Linked DNA regions of Homo sapiens: regions 1, 2 and 3 are each linked to region 4. The links are contacts of gene promoters, found by promoter capture Hi-C in human tissues and cell types (Jung and others, 2019). All regions are on one chromosome and are shown on one strand. The core of a region is centred on a gene start or on the middle of the fragment in contact, and the rest is flanking DNA. Distances in the headings are between cores, read along the strand shown. Region 1 overlaps CLTCL1 (clathrin heavy chain like 1). Region 2 overlaps CLTCL1 (clathrin heavy chain like 1). Region 3 overlaps CLTCL1 (clathrin heavy chain like 1). Region 4 holds the start of MRPL40 (mitochondrial ribosomal protein L40).

What was found. Contacts are between HindIII fragments. The study calls those that stand out against the background at their distance.
Region 1: a fragment that was not itself captured here is called in contact with the fragment with the promoter of MRPL40 in region 4 in 1 of the 25 tissues and cell types used here (dorsolateral prefrontal cortex).
Region 2: a fragment that was not itself captured here is called in contact with the fragment with the promoter of MRPL40 in region 4 in 1 of the 25 tissues and cell types used here (aorta).
Region 3: a contact is called between a fragment that was not itself captured here and the fragment with the promoter of MRPL40 in region 4, in 1 of the 25 tissues and cell types used here (H1 embryonic stem cells).

Annotation. Positions count from the first base shown.
Region 1 is chr22:19,192,646-19,195,526 of GRCh38, forward strand. The region is part of intron 26 of CLTCL1 (clathrin heavy chain like 1); the gene reads right to left. Among named protein-coding and RNA genes, the nearest start is that of SLC25A1, 15 kb to the left of the region's middle. The HindIII fragment of the contact is 7,428 bases long and covers 1-2,881 here.
Region 2 is chr22:19,251,142-19,253,850 of GRCh38, forward strand. All of the region lies in intron 3 of CLTCL1 (clathrin heavy chain like 1), which reads right to left. It also overlaps the pseudogene DVL1P1. Among named protein-coding and RNA genes, the nearest start is that of CLTCL1, 39 kb to the right of the region's middle. The HindIII fragment of the contact is 5,735 bases long and covers 1-2,709 here.
Region 3 is chr22:19,214,245-19,216,950 of GRCh38, forward strand. It overlaps CLTCL1 (clathrin heavy chain like 1), which reads right to left. Exons shown (of 33, transcript NM_007098.4): 19 at 1,867-2,012. Among named protein-coding and RNA genes, the nearest start is that of SLC25A1, 37 kb to the left of the region's middle. The HindIII fragment of the contact is 5,984 bases long and covers 1-2,706 here.
Region 4 is chr22:19,431,127-19,434,064 of GRCh38, forward strand. MRPL40 (mitochondrial ribosomal protein L40) reads left to right here and starts at 1,419. Exons shown (of 4, transcript NM_003776.4): 1 at 1,419-1,481; 2 at 2,139-2,222. The coding sequence starts at 1,429. It overlaps HIRA (histone cell cycle regulator), which reads right to left and starts at 607. Exons shown (of 25, transcript NM_003325.4): 1 at 314-607. The coding sequence starts at 350. RefSeq lists an enhancer at 1-209 and silencers at 494-893, 1,184-1,493. The HindIII fragment of the contact is 11,001 bases long and covers 1-2,938 here.

The DNA of each region.
Region 1 (2,881 bases), core at 295-2,794, 240 kb before region 4:
CTAATGGTCCCACTATGGCTTACTGGCCACTTCAGGGTGTCTTCTTTCTCCTTCTCTTTTCCTTTTGTGCTAGAGCACTCACTGTCACCAGAGATTCTGACCCAGACAGGCAGCAGGGTCCCTAGTACCCGCCACCATGGATTCAGAGCAAAACGGTGAACTGGCCGCATCACAAAGCTTCACCTATGGCACTGGTGGGCCCCCAGACTCTGCCACAGGCCACTGTGGGTCCACTCCTATTGGAGCTCTAGCACCTGTCAGCCTTCTAGGCTGGCCCTTTACTCAGCAGCAGGGCCAGGACATGGGGGCCTCAACTAGACACTGAAGAAGCAGAGAGCAGTCAGGATGTGATGTGGGGCTGAAGAGAAGGGTAGGGACTCAAGTTCATCTTCTGTGGCGAATCACCTCCTCAAAGCCCCACCTGCTTCCCCACCAACCACAAGGCTCCTCAGGCCTCCCGTGAAGGAGAGGAACCATCCAAGGACAAGCCCATTTCAGAGACTCTTGCAGGTATCACGCGAGTGGACAGACTTGAAGTGGGGCACCAGCAGTCCTAGCTTCCCTTGTGGGACACCTGGTACCATGTGCACTCTTGGCCCTTTCAACAGGTCCATGCAGCATGGCCGGAATGCCGTTTAAGGTGGAGTATAACTGCCATGTTCCCACCCAGTTCCTCTGGTGTTGAGGCCTGCAGGGACACACATCTCTGTTGGGCTCAGCTGCTGGGATCTGGAGCCCTCTGCACTACAGGAGGAATGGAGCGGCGGGGCCCCTCTGGAGCGTCCTCCAGATCCAAGCTGAAAGACAGGATGGGGTGAGTCCACTAGCCACGCGCCAGGACATGGAGCACTGGCAGGCCCGTGCCCACTAGCATGGTCAGCAAGGACAGCCAGCACCCCAGAAGACATGGTAGTATCCCTGTTTTATACAAGGGAAAACTGAAGGCTGGGCGTGGTGGCTCACGCCTGTAATCCCAGCACTTTGGGAGGCCAAGGCAGGCGGATTGTGTCTGTAATTTATTCCTTCCGGTGGGTTCTTGGTCTCACTGACTTCAAGAATGAAGCCACAGACCCTCATGGTGAGTGTTACAGCTCTTAAAGATGTTGTGTCCAGAGTTTGTTCCTTCAGATGTTGAGAGGTGTGAGTTTCTTCCTTCTGGTGGGTTCGTGATCTGGCTGACTTCACAAATGAAGCTCCAGACCTTCGCAGTGAGTGTTACAGCTTTTAAACCTAGTGCAGACTCAATGAGTGAGCAGCAGCAAGACTGATTGTGAAAAGCAAAAGAACAAAGCTCCCACAACATGGAAAAAGACCCGAACAGGTTGCACTGCTGGCTCGCATGGCCAGCTTTTATTCCCTTATTTGGCCCCACCCACATCCTGCTGATTGGCCCATTTTACAGAGCGCTAATTGGTCCATTCTACAGAGTGCTGATTGGCCCATTTTACAGAGTGCTGATTGGTACGTTTTTTACAGAGTGCTGATTGGTGCATTTACAATCCTTTAGCTAGATGCAGAGTGCTGATTGGTGTACTTACAATCCTTTAGCTGGACACAAAATTTCTCCAAGTCCCCACCCGACCCAAGAAGTCCAGGTGGCGTCACCTCTCAAGATCACCTGAGGTCAGGAGTTTGAGAACAGCCTGCCCAACATGGTAAAACCCTGTATCTATTAAAAATACAAAAATGAGCCGGGCGTGGTGGCAGGCACCTGTAATCCCAGCTACTCTGGAGGCTGAGGCAGGAGAATCGCTCGAGGCTGGGAGGCGGAGGTTGCAGTGAGCCAAGATCGCGCCACTGCACTCCAGCCTGAGTGACAGAGTGAGACTCCGTTTCAAGAAAAATAATAATAAAACAAAAAAAGAAGAGAAAACTGAAGCTGAGATTCCGCCACAAGCTCCAGGATAGCTGGTTGGCGTGCTGTGCTGCACAACCTGAAAGAAGCGCCCACCGGATGCCAGGCACCTGCCATGGACCACTTGGTCGGGAGGAAACATGATGTCCATTGTATGGATGGGATAACGAGGTTCACAGCGGTGACACCCCTAGCCCACATGGAGAGAGACAGTGAATGGCTGAGCTGGGGTGCCCCCCGTGTGAGTTAGCAAGCTCCCCTGCTCAGGCTGCTGCTGGCCCAGCCCTATGGCTAAGTGGATTCCTGCTATCGTGTGCCCCAAATACAGATTGGATGTCGTCCATCTGATTGGACCCCTGCACTGGCGAGTATCCTCCTACCCCCTTCACACCTGAGCTGACAGTGTCTGTCTCCCACACGGCAGGGTGTAGTAGAAGCATCATGAATCACACAAGGAACTGGACTCAGCCATCAGCCCTGCAGGCACCAGATGAGAGATGCTGCTCTCCCACACAGTGAGTCTCAGCTGTCCTGCTATTATTTTATATGCCAGTAAGAAACAAAAGCATGGCCACTTCCACCACGGCTCAGCAATTTTTAAAAACACCCTAATATCAGAGGAGTTACAATGTGAATAAAATACACACAGGATTGATCAAGTATGGATTTTCCAGCACACAGACAAATCTACAAGGCAGCAGCCACGTGTGCCAGGCCACAGTAAGGTATGACCTGGCCGCACTCCCTCCAGCAACCTGCAGACTCTGCTCAGGGTGGGACGCCCCATCAAAGGCCCCCACTTTCACGTACCACCATGCCCAGTAACATGGATGTCCTCCAACAAGAAGCTCGGGCTTGTGGCCTGGTGCTCAATACTGGGTTCCTTCAAATAGTTCCCAGGAAAGGCAGAGGCTGAAGGCCTCACCTGGCAGCACACGTGCCACTCGCGCCCACCCTCAGTAGCCGCATGTGGAAAAGAGGTGCATGAGCGAGGCCACAGCTCACTGCTGTGCCACTCCAGTCACA
Region 2 (2,709 bases), core at 141-2,640, 180 kb before region 4:
ACTTCCAAACATGTTTTGTAGTTTTCAGAATGTAACTTTTGCACTTTTTAAATTAAATTTACCTCTAAGTATTTTATTCTTTTTGATGTTATTATTAATGAGATTGCTTTCCTGATTTCATTTTTGGATTGTTCGTTGCAAATGTTTAGGAACACAATTGATGTTTGCAAACTGATATTGTATTCTGTAACCTTGTTCAATTTGTTTATTAGTTCTAATAGTTTTTTACTAGATTCCTTAGGATTTCCATATACAAGCTTATGTCATCTGCAAATAGAGACAGCTTTAATTCTTCCATTTAAATCTAGATGCCTTTTTGTTTTGTTTTGTTTCTGAGACGGAGTCTCGCTCTTTTGCCCAGGCCGGACTGTGGTGGTGCTATCTCGGTCACTGCAAGCTCCGCCTCCCGGGTTCATGCCATTCTCCTGCCTCAGCCTCCCGAGTAGCTGGGACTACAGGCGCCCGCCACCGTGCCCGGCTAATTTTTTGTATTTTTAGTAGAGACGGGGTTTCACCGTGTTAGCCAGGATGGTCTCAATCTCCTGACCTCGTGATCCGCCCGCCTTGGCCTCCCAAAGTGCTGGGATTACAGGCGTGAGCCACCGTGCCCAGCCTAAATCTAGATGCCTTTTATGTTTTTCTCACCTAATTGCCCTGGCTAGAATCTCTAGTCCAAAGCTGAACAGAAGTAGCAAGAGAAGACATCCTTGTCTTGTTTCTGATCCTTGGGGGAAAGCTTTCAGTTTTTCAACATGAAGTAAGATGTTAGTTGTATTTGTTGTAGATGCCCTTTATCAGGGTGAGTAAGCCAAAGTCTTAGGTCTTGTCTCCCCTGTATATCTGCAATGCCACTGCCTTCATCTAGTCACACATGCTTCATATCTTCTGGGGGTTGCAGAAATGGAACAGAGCGTTCCAGAAATGGAAGTACTCCTTCCCTGTTTGCGTATTCTTAACCTTTCTCATACATGTCTCTATTCCAGAACAGACTACATGGTTTTGTTCCTGTATCTGCCTTTCAACTAGTCTCCTGGCCTCCAGTCTTCATGGTGGTCCATCTTCAACATCAATGATAGCATTTTTTCAATTCCACTATGCTGCTAAGAAGGAAAATTAATTACATCACTCTCACTCAAAACCTGCTACATAATTCCCATTGCCTGCAGTCTGGCCCCCAATCATCTCTCTAAGTCTTGCCCCTCTAGCTACCTAATATGCTTACCTATAGGTATCATCCACGGTGGGTGACCCCAGACTCCCAGAAAGAGCCATTCTCCTCCATTCTGTGCCTTTGCATACACTGTGTCCTTCCAAAGTGCACTTTAATAGCTAGCAAAATGCATCTTAGATCCCCTGTGTTGCAGGCTGTCTTGACTTAAGCTGCTCTCTCATGGCTCCCACAGTATTCTCTTCAAACATGTGACAGTTCCTTAATTACTAGAATTGTGCAGATACACCTTCCCCACTAGGCTATAGACAAATCATTCACTGGTCATCAGGATTGAATGACGAAGATCTATGTCCCAAGTGCAAACATCCTGTAGTCCTCAAGTATCTGGTGACTGAATTAGCCACCAGGAATGAAAAAAGGGGACGGGCGCGGTGGCTCACGCCTGTAATCCCAGCACTTTGGGAGGCCAAGGCGGGCGGATCACGAGGTCAGGAGATCAAGGCCATCCTGGCTAACACGGAGAAACCCCATCTCTACTAAAAATACAAAAAATTAGCCAGGCATGGTGGTGGGCGCCTGTAGTCCCAGCTACTGGGGAGGCTGAGGCAGGAGAATGGCATGAACCCAGGAGGCAGAGCTTGCAGTGAGCCGAGATCGCGCCACTGCACTCCAGCTTGGGTGACAGAGTAAGACTCCGTCTCAAAAAAAAAAAAAAAAAAAGGGAGGACAAAAAGATACTGCTTTCAGTATAATAGAATATGAGTTAGTAACATTCCAGTAAGTCCTTAAAATACAGTCTAAGAACTACTTCTTTTTTTTCCCATAAAATTAAATGCTTTTTAGTGTTTCAAATAAGCAGCATTTACACAGAAGCAGCTCTATGTTAACCATCTAGATGCTGGGACTTTGATACAATACCTACAGTGCAGACACACGGGGGCCAGAGATGCCAGGAAGGCCGCGTTGTGTGTGGGCCGTGGTGTGTGCGGGCAGTGTGTGCAATTACCAAGGACAGGCCAGCTGACCGCCCATTTCCCCAAGACCTCCCTCCCTGCGGCAGCTGTGCACATCGGGGCCCTTTGACCCCATGGGCCACGGTCCCTCCCTGCCCTGGCTGGGACGCAGTGGGCAGGATGTCTAGCCCTCTCTCGTCTTCCCGAAGGACTACTTCTTATAAAACTATGGGTTCCAAATTACTCTATAAAATTCCTCAACAACCTCTCAAAACAGTGCTAGAAATAGTTTATACAATGAACATCAGTAACCTGAAGGAATGCAGTAGTAGTTAATAGGCCAAAGGTAAATTAAGATTATTTGATCCAAGTTCAGATTTCTTTGTAATCTCTATTTCTCTCAGTTCCAGGCCTACTTTTGCCTTATACCTATAACCAACTTTTTTTTTTTTTGAGACAGGGTCTTGCTCTGTTGCCCAGGCTGGAGTGCAGTGGCGCAATCTTGGCTCACTGCAACCTCAAACCCCTGACCTCAAGAGATCCTCCCGCCTCGGCCTCCCAAAGTGCTGGGATTACAGGCATGAG
Region 3 (2,706 bases), core at 62-2,561, 220 kb before region 4:
ACATCCTCATCAGCACTGATTAGGAGAGTGGGGTTCCTGCTGCTCTGGCAGGAGTAACAAAGCATCGGATGATGCACTGTGGCCTCACTCTGTGCCTCCTTGGTGGCTGATGAGGCTGAATTCACAAGCTGCCCTTCCTCTCACCGGAGGGTGTGCTCAAGCTCTCTGCTTGGTTTCTCATTGGGTTGCTTGTGTTTGTCTTTTATTACAACTTTTCCCTACTAATTTTTTGTTGGTTGTGTTGCAAATATCTTCCCCGCATTTGTAGCTTCTCATTTGTCCATCTTCTTTACGATAAAGTGCTTAAGTTTAATACAGTCTTATTGGTTTTTCACTAAAGGTTTATTTATGGTTTCTGGTTTCTGTGACTGGCTTAAGAATTTATTAGGTCATAAGTATATTCTTCCAAGTATATACTCTAAAAATAATATATTTTGCTTTTTTTTTTTTTTTTGAGATGGAGTCTCGCTCTGTCACCCAGGCTAGAGTATAGTGGTGCCATCTCGGCTCACTGCAACCTCCACCTCCCAGACTCAAGCGATTCTCCCGCCTCAGCCTCCCGAGTAGCTGGGATTACAGGCACCTGCCATCATGCCTGGCTGAATTTTTATTTTTAGTAGAGACAGGGTTTCACCCATGCTGGCTAGGCTGGTCTCAAACTCCTGGCCTCCCAAAGTGCTGGGATTACAGGCGTGAGCCACTACGCCCAGCCAAGGCTATTTTTACCTACGCATAAAACTGTCTGGTGAAATCATCAATGAAAGAAGAGCACGAACTTGAGGTTACCTGCATGTTTGAGAAGCAAGTGTTTAAGAAGACAGCAGAGCTACAGCCACCTGTAAGTGCCTGGAAGTACACACAAACTAACAACTATCAAAGGAGGTTGATCAGACAGCAAGACAGAATATCGTAGCCACCTCAGGCACCTTAATCCTGGCATCCTGTCATTAGTCAGGGTTTATGATTCCATTAAATATAATTTCACATTCCATATGCCATTACCATATAGCATCTCCAAGTTTAAAAACACACACACAAATTCCTCTCTATAATACTACAGCCCTTGATAGCCTTTCTGGCCTACAAAATAAATCTCATAACTAAATCTTTACAGCTGCACTTATGATGTGAGTTGATTAAAATCTGACACAGAATCTCTGATGGTGAATTTTGAAGTGGAGAGGAACCCCAGGTGGCTGGCCCATGCGGAAGCACGCACTCTTACCTCTATGGTGCCTGCCCATGCAAAAGAAGCACGCGCTCCCACCTCTATAGTGCTGGTCCATGCCGAAACACACACTCCCACCTCTATACTGCCGGTCCGTGTGGAAGCGTGCACTCTCACCTCTATAGTGCCGGTCCATCGGAAGCACGCACTCGCACCTCTATAGTGCCGGGCCTGTGCTGCTGCCCCTGCCACAGCTCCTGCTCATCTGGCTTCTACATTATACTTCGGGCAAGTCTTCCCTGATACATGCCCAGATCTGGTTCTCCTGCCACCTTTCTCCAAGCTTTGTTCACCATGATTTGAAGAGTTCAACACATCCTTAGGCCACATGAGACCTTCATAAAATGCCAGCTCCCTTTCTCTGAGCATTGTGTTAAAGGACAGTGTGGGCCAGAGCAGTAAGAGGAGCGCAGGCTCCTAGAAAATGTGAAACTGAGGCTGGGCTCTGAGACAGGCAGGAGCTAATAAGGGAAGGGCTAGATTGAGGTAGAGGAGGTGGTAAGAAGATTGGCATGTCTGGGGAGCAGCCAATGGGCAGGCTGGATGGGTGAAGCGGTACGAGATTGTAACAGAAGATGAGTATCAAGCAGATGTTTTGAATCTGCCTGTGTCCACAGCTACCCCTGGCATAGCCTCACCTGTGCTCGCTGAAGACAGAGTTATCCAGAACTATCTTCTCCAGCAGTTCAATCAGTTCATTAGGCAGGTCGGCTGTCATAAAGGCTTTGACAGTGACCGAAATCTCTTCAGGATCCCGTGTTTCTGACAATGCTGTCTGTACCACCTGGTTTTAAAAAGCATTTGAAAGAACTTGATTAAAGTCAATTCAAGACTGTATCTTTGAAGCTAAACAGAAGGGAAGGACTCCTCCAAGATGGTCTGGAATAGACACAGAGAAAATGGGAGACTTCTTAATGTAACAAAGGAAGGGTTTTCAAAGTTAATTTCAGGAAATTCTGTTTGCTCTGTTTTGACAATTAGTTTTTCTCTCATATCAAATATGCTACAGACTCTTACTCAGCTCCAATGACCAGTGCACCAGGCATTTTGAAATGAATGTCTCCTTTTAGATTTGTCTCTTAAAGCCACTAATAGCAAATATGGCTCCACTTCTCTAATGAAGACACCGCAGGGGCTTCCAGCAGCCTCTTACTAGAAGAGAGCACTGCCACTGCTGTGGCACAGTCCACAGCCAGAGCTGTGGAGCCACGTGCCTTCACACCGGATGACACTCAGAACCACAATCTGAAGGAAAGACCAACAAAAGACTGGCTGTGCCACCCCTCCTCCAATTATAGGTGTCTCACATACAAAAACACTTACAAATAGGGTGGAAAGACAGTTTTCCAAAGAGTACATTTCCCATGCAACAGCAGTTTGGAACGCCAGCACTGTTCTCTTTGCACTTTGGACCAGGCACCTTCAGTGACTTCCAGAATCTAATATTTTTGCCAAGTTTCTGGTTCTCCTCAGGGGTG
Region 4 (2,938 bases), core at 169-2,668:
CACTGGCTGGCACCAAGGCCCGCTCCTGGGAGCCAGGCCGCGGCCCCTCCAAGGACCACAGGTGGGCAGCGGAAGACTCAGAGCAAGAGCCAGGGGCGAAGATGGCCCTCGCTGCGGTCAACCCGGAGCACGTGCTGGGGCTCACCAGCCTCTCCGCGCTGAGGACAAAGTCCGCTCCCGCCGGCTTCTTGGCTTGGGCACCGGGTACCGGGCGTCAGGGGCGAGACAGGCAGGACTTGCGCGCGCCCCGACTCGACTCCAGACCCCGACCCGACTCCGGGCTCGGCCTCCCGCGACCCCTGCGCGCACTCACCATTGTGGTTGACCCAGGTCGGCTTCAGGAGCTTCATTGTTCGGCCGCCGCCGCCGCCGGGCTGAGGCGAGCGCCGGGTCCCTCAGCGCGCCCGGGCCATGGAGCCACCGCCGCCGCTTCCTCCCGCGCCACCCGCCCTCCGGCCGCCGCCCGCCCCGCGCCCTCAGGGCCGCCGCGCCATCGCCGGCCCGCGCCCCCCTCCGCCGCCACAGCCGCCACCCGCGCTCGGCCGCCGCCGCCGCCACCACAGCCGCATCCCCTGCGCCGCTCCTCCTCAGGCGGCTCCCGGGCAACGCCGGAAGTCACGGCGCGCACCTGCCAAATCGCCCCGGCGGGAAACCGCTCCCCACGCGGACTGGGCCGCCCCGGCTCCTCCGCTGGCAGGGGCTTCGGGTCGGGCCCGGGCGCGGGCGCCCCAGAAAGGGCGGTTCGCCTGGACGGCGGACAGCGAGCGGGGCCTGCAGTTGCAACCCGGGCCGCCCGCAGAGGCAGGCGGGGCCCAGGTGGCGTGGACCGCCCGTCACCAGCTCTGCCTCGCCAGTCTGAGTCCGACTTATTAACTAGCTTCCGTCATTCATCAACACGCGCTATTGGGCATCTTGCGAGCGCCGGGCTCCGCGCCGGCGCCGGAATGCGATCCGGGCTTCGGACTCGAACGAATGCGGGGGACGAGCCAACCCTGGTGGGGGAGGCTGGGGCGGACGCGTTTATTAGAAGATCGGGGCCGTTTGCCTAGACATGAACATTTGGACTCGGAGGAGCAGAGGGACGCCCCCTCGGCCGCTCCGGCTGCACTGCGGAGCCGAGGCCCGCGCGAGGGCGCAGACCGACCAACCGGCTAGGGCCTGACTGGCTAGACTGTGCCCGCTGCAGAGGCGCGCTCCCAGCACAGGGCGGGGACGGAAGGGAGGACCCCGAGCCGCGTGAAACGCAAGGCCCTCGTGTGTGCGCAGCTGACACCCTAGGCGGGGCTGCGTCGGGGGCGGGGACAGGCGCGTCCCAGCCCACGCAGCCGGAACGCCTGAGCGCTGGGCGCCTGGTCTGCCGGACCTCAGCAGGGGGCACCGCGGGCCGGACTGTGGAGGGGCGCACGCCCGGAAGCGGCGAGGGTAGCCATGACGGCCTCCGTGCTGCGAAGTATCTCGCTAGCCCTGCGCCCGACTAGCGGGTGAGTGCGGACGCTGGCCGGATAGCGGAGTGCCCAGGGCGCGTGCGGGGTCTTCGCGACTGTCCGCCAGGACTCGCCTGTGCTCCCTGCTCGCCTCCCAGTCCACGAATATCTCAGGGATGAGCCATCTGGTCGTGACTCTTATGCATGAAAATCTGAGCACCCTGGCGAGCAGCGGTCCTGCTTAAGTCCTCTGTGGTCTGAACGAAAGATTTTGAAAAACCTTCCACGTTGACCTTGCTGTCATATCAAGTAGTTAGAAGTGCCCCGGGTTTGGGAGCATTGCAATTTTTTATTTTCCTGTGAAGTGGGAGAGAATCAGATATTTATTTATTTATTTGAGACAGAGTCTCGCTCTGTCGCCCAGGCTGGAGTGCAGTGGCGCGATTTCGGCTCACTGCAACCTCTGCCTCCCGGGTTCAAGCAGTTCTGCCCCGGCCTCCCGAGTAGCTCGGATTACAGGCGCCCAACACCACGCCCGGCTAATTTTTGTATTTTTAGTAGAGACGGGGTTTCACCATGTTGGCCAGGCTGGTCTTGAACTCCTGACCTCGCGATCCACCCGCCTCGGCCTCCCAAAGTGCTGGGATTACAGACGTGAGCAACCGCGCCTAGCCTGGAGAAGCAGATATTTATACATACTCTTGTATCTTTCAGGCTTCTGGGAACTTGGCAGACGCAGCTTAGAGAGACTCACCAGCGAGCGTCATTGTTGTCTTTCTGGGAACTCATTCCCATGAGGTAAAACTCAATCGAGGGCCTGACCTCTGGGGGTAAAGGTGTCAGTCTATGTGTAGAGAACAAAGCAAGAATGCTGGATGTGTGGTTTGCAAAATTAACAGCCTACAAAGTTTCTCAGTTAAATTTAGGCCGATGCTTTTCTGTTTTTCCAACATTTTCCAAACCATAGATTGTTGTTTGTAATTTTTAAAATTTGAGCAGTTTCTCAAGAAGTAAGTATTCTCCTTGAAGGGATTCTTGTGTGTTTTAAAGGACACAGCTTAAGTTTCTGTTTCTCCATGACCCTTCCTCTTCCCTGCCCATTCGGAGGCCCTGGAGAGTGTGGGGAAGATGCAAGTATTAAAGGTATTTCCATCTGGCACTCTCGACTCTTTGTAGATACTTGATTCAGTCAATCTTGATAGTAAAGGATTTGATTTTTCTTTTTTTTTTGAGATGGAGTCTCACTGTGTCACCCAGGCTGGAGTGCAGTGGTGTGACCTCGGATCACTGCAACCTTCGCCTCCTGGGTTAAACTAATTCTCCTGCCTCAGCCTCCCAAGTAGCTGGGATTACAGGCGCCCACTACCACGCCCGGCTAATTTTTGTGTTTTTAGTAGAGACGGGGTTTCACCATGTTGGATGTTGGTCAGGCTGGTCTCGAACTCCTGATCTCAGGTGATCCACCCACCTCAGCACCCAAAGTGCTGGGATTACAGGCCTGAGCCACCGCACCC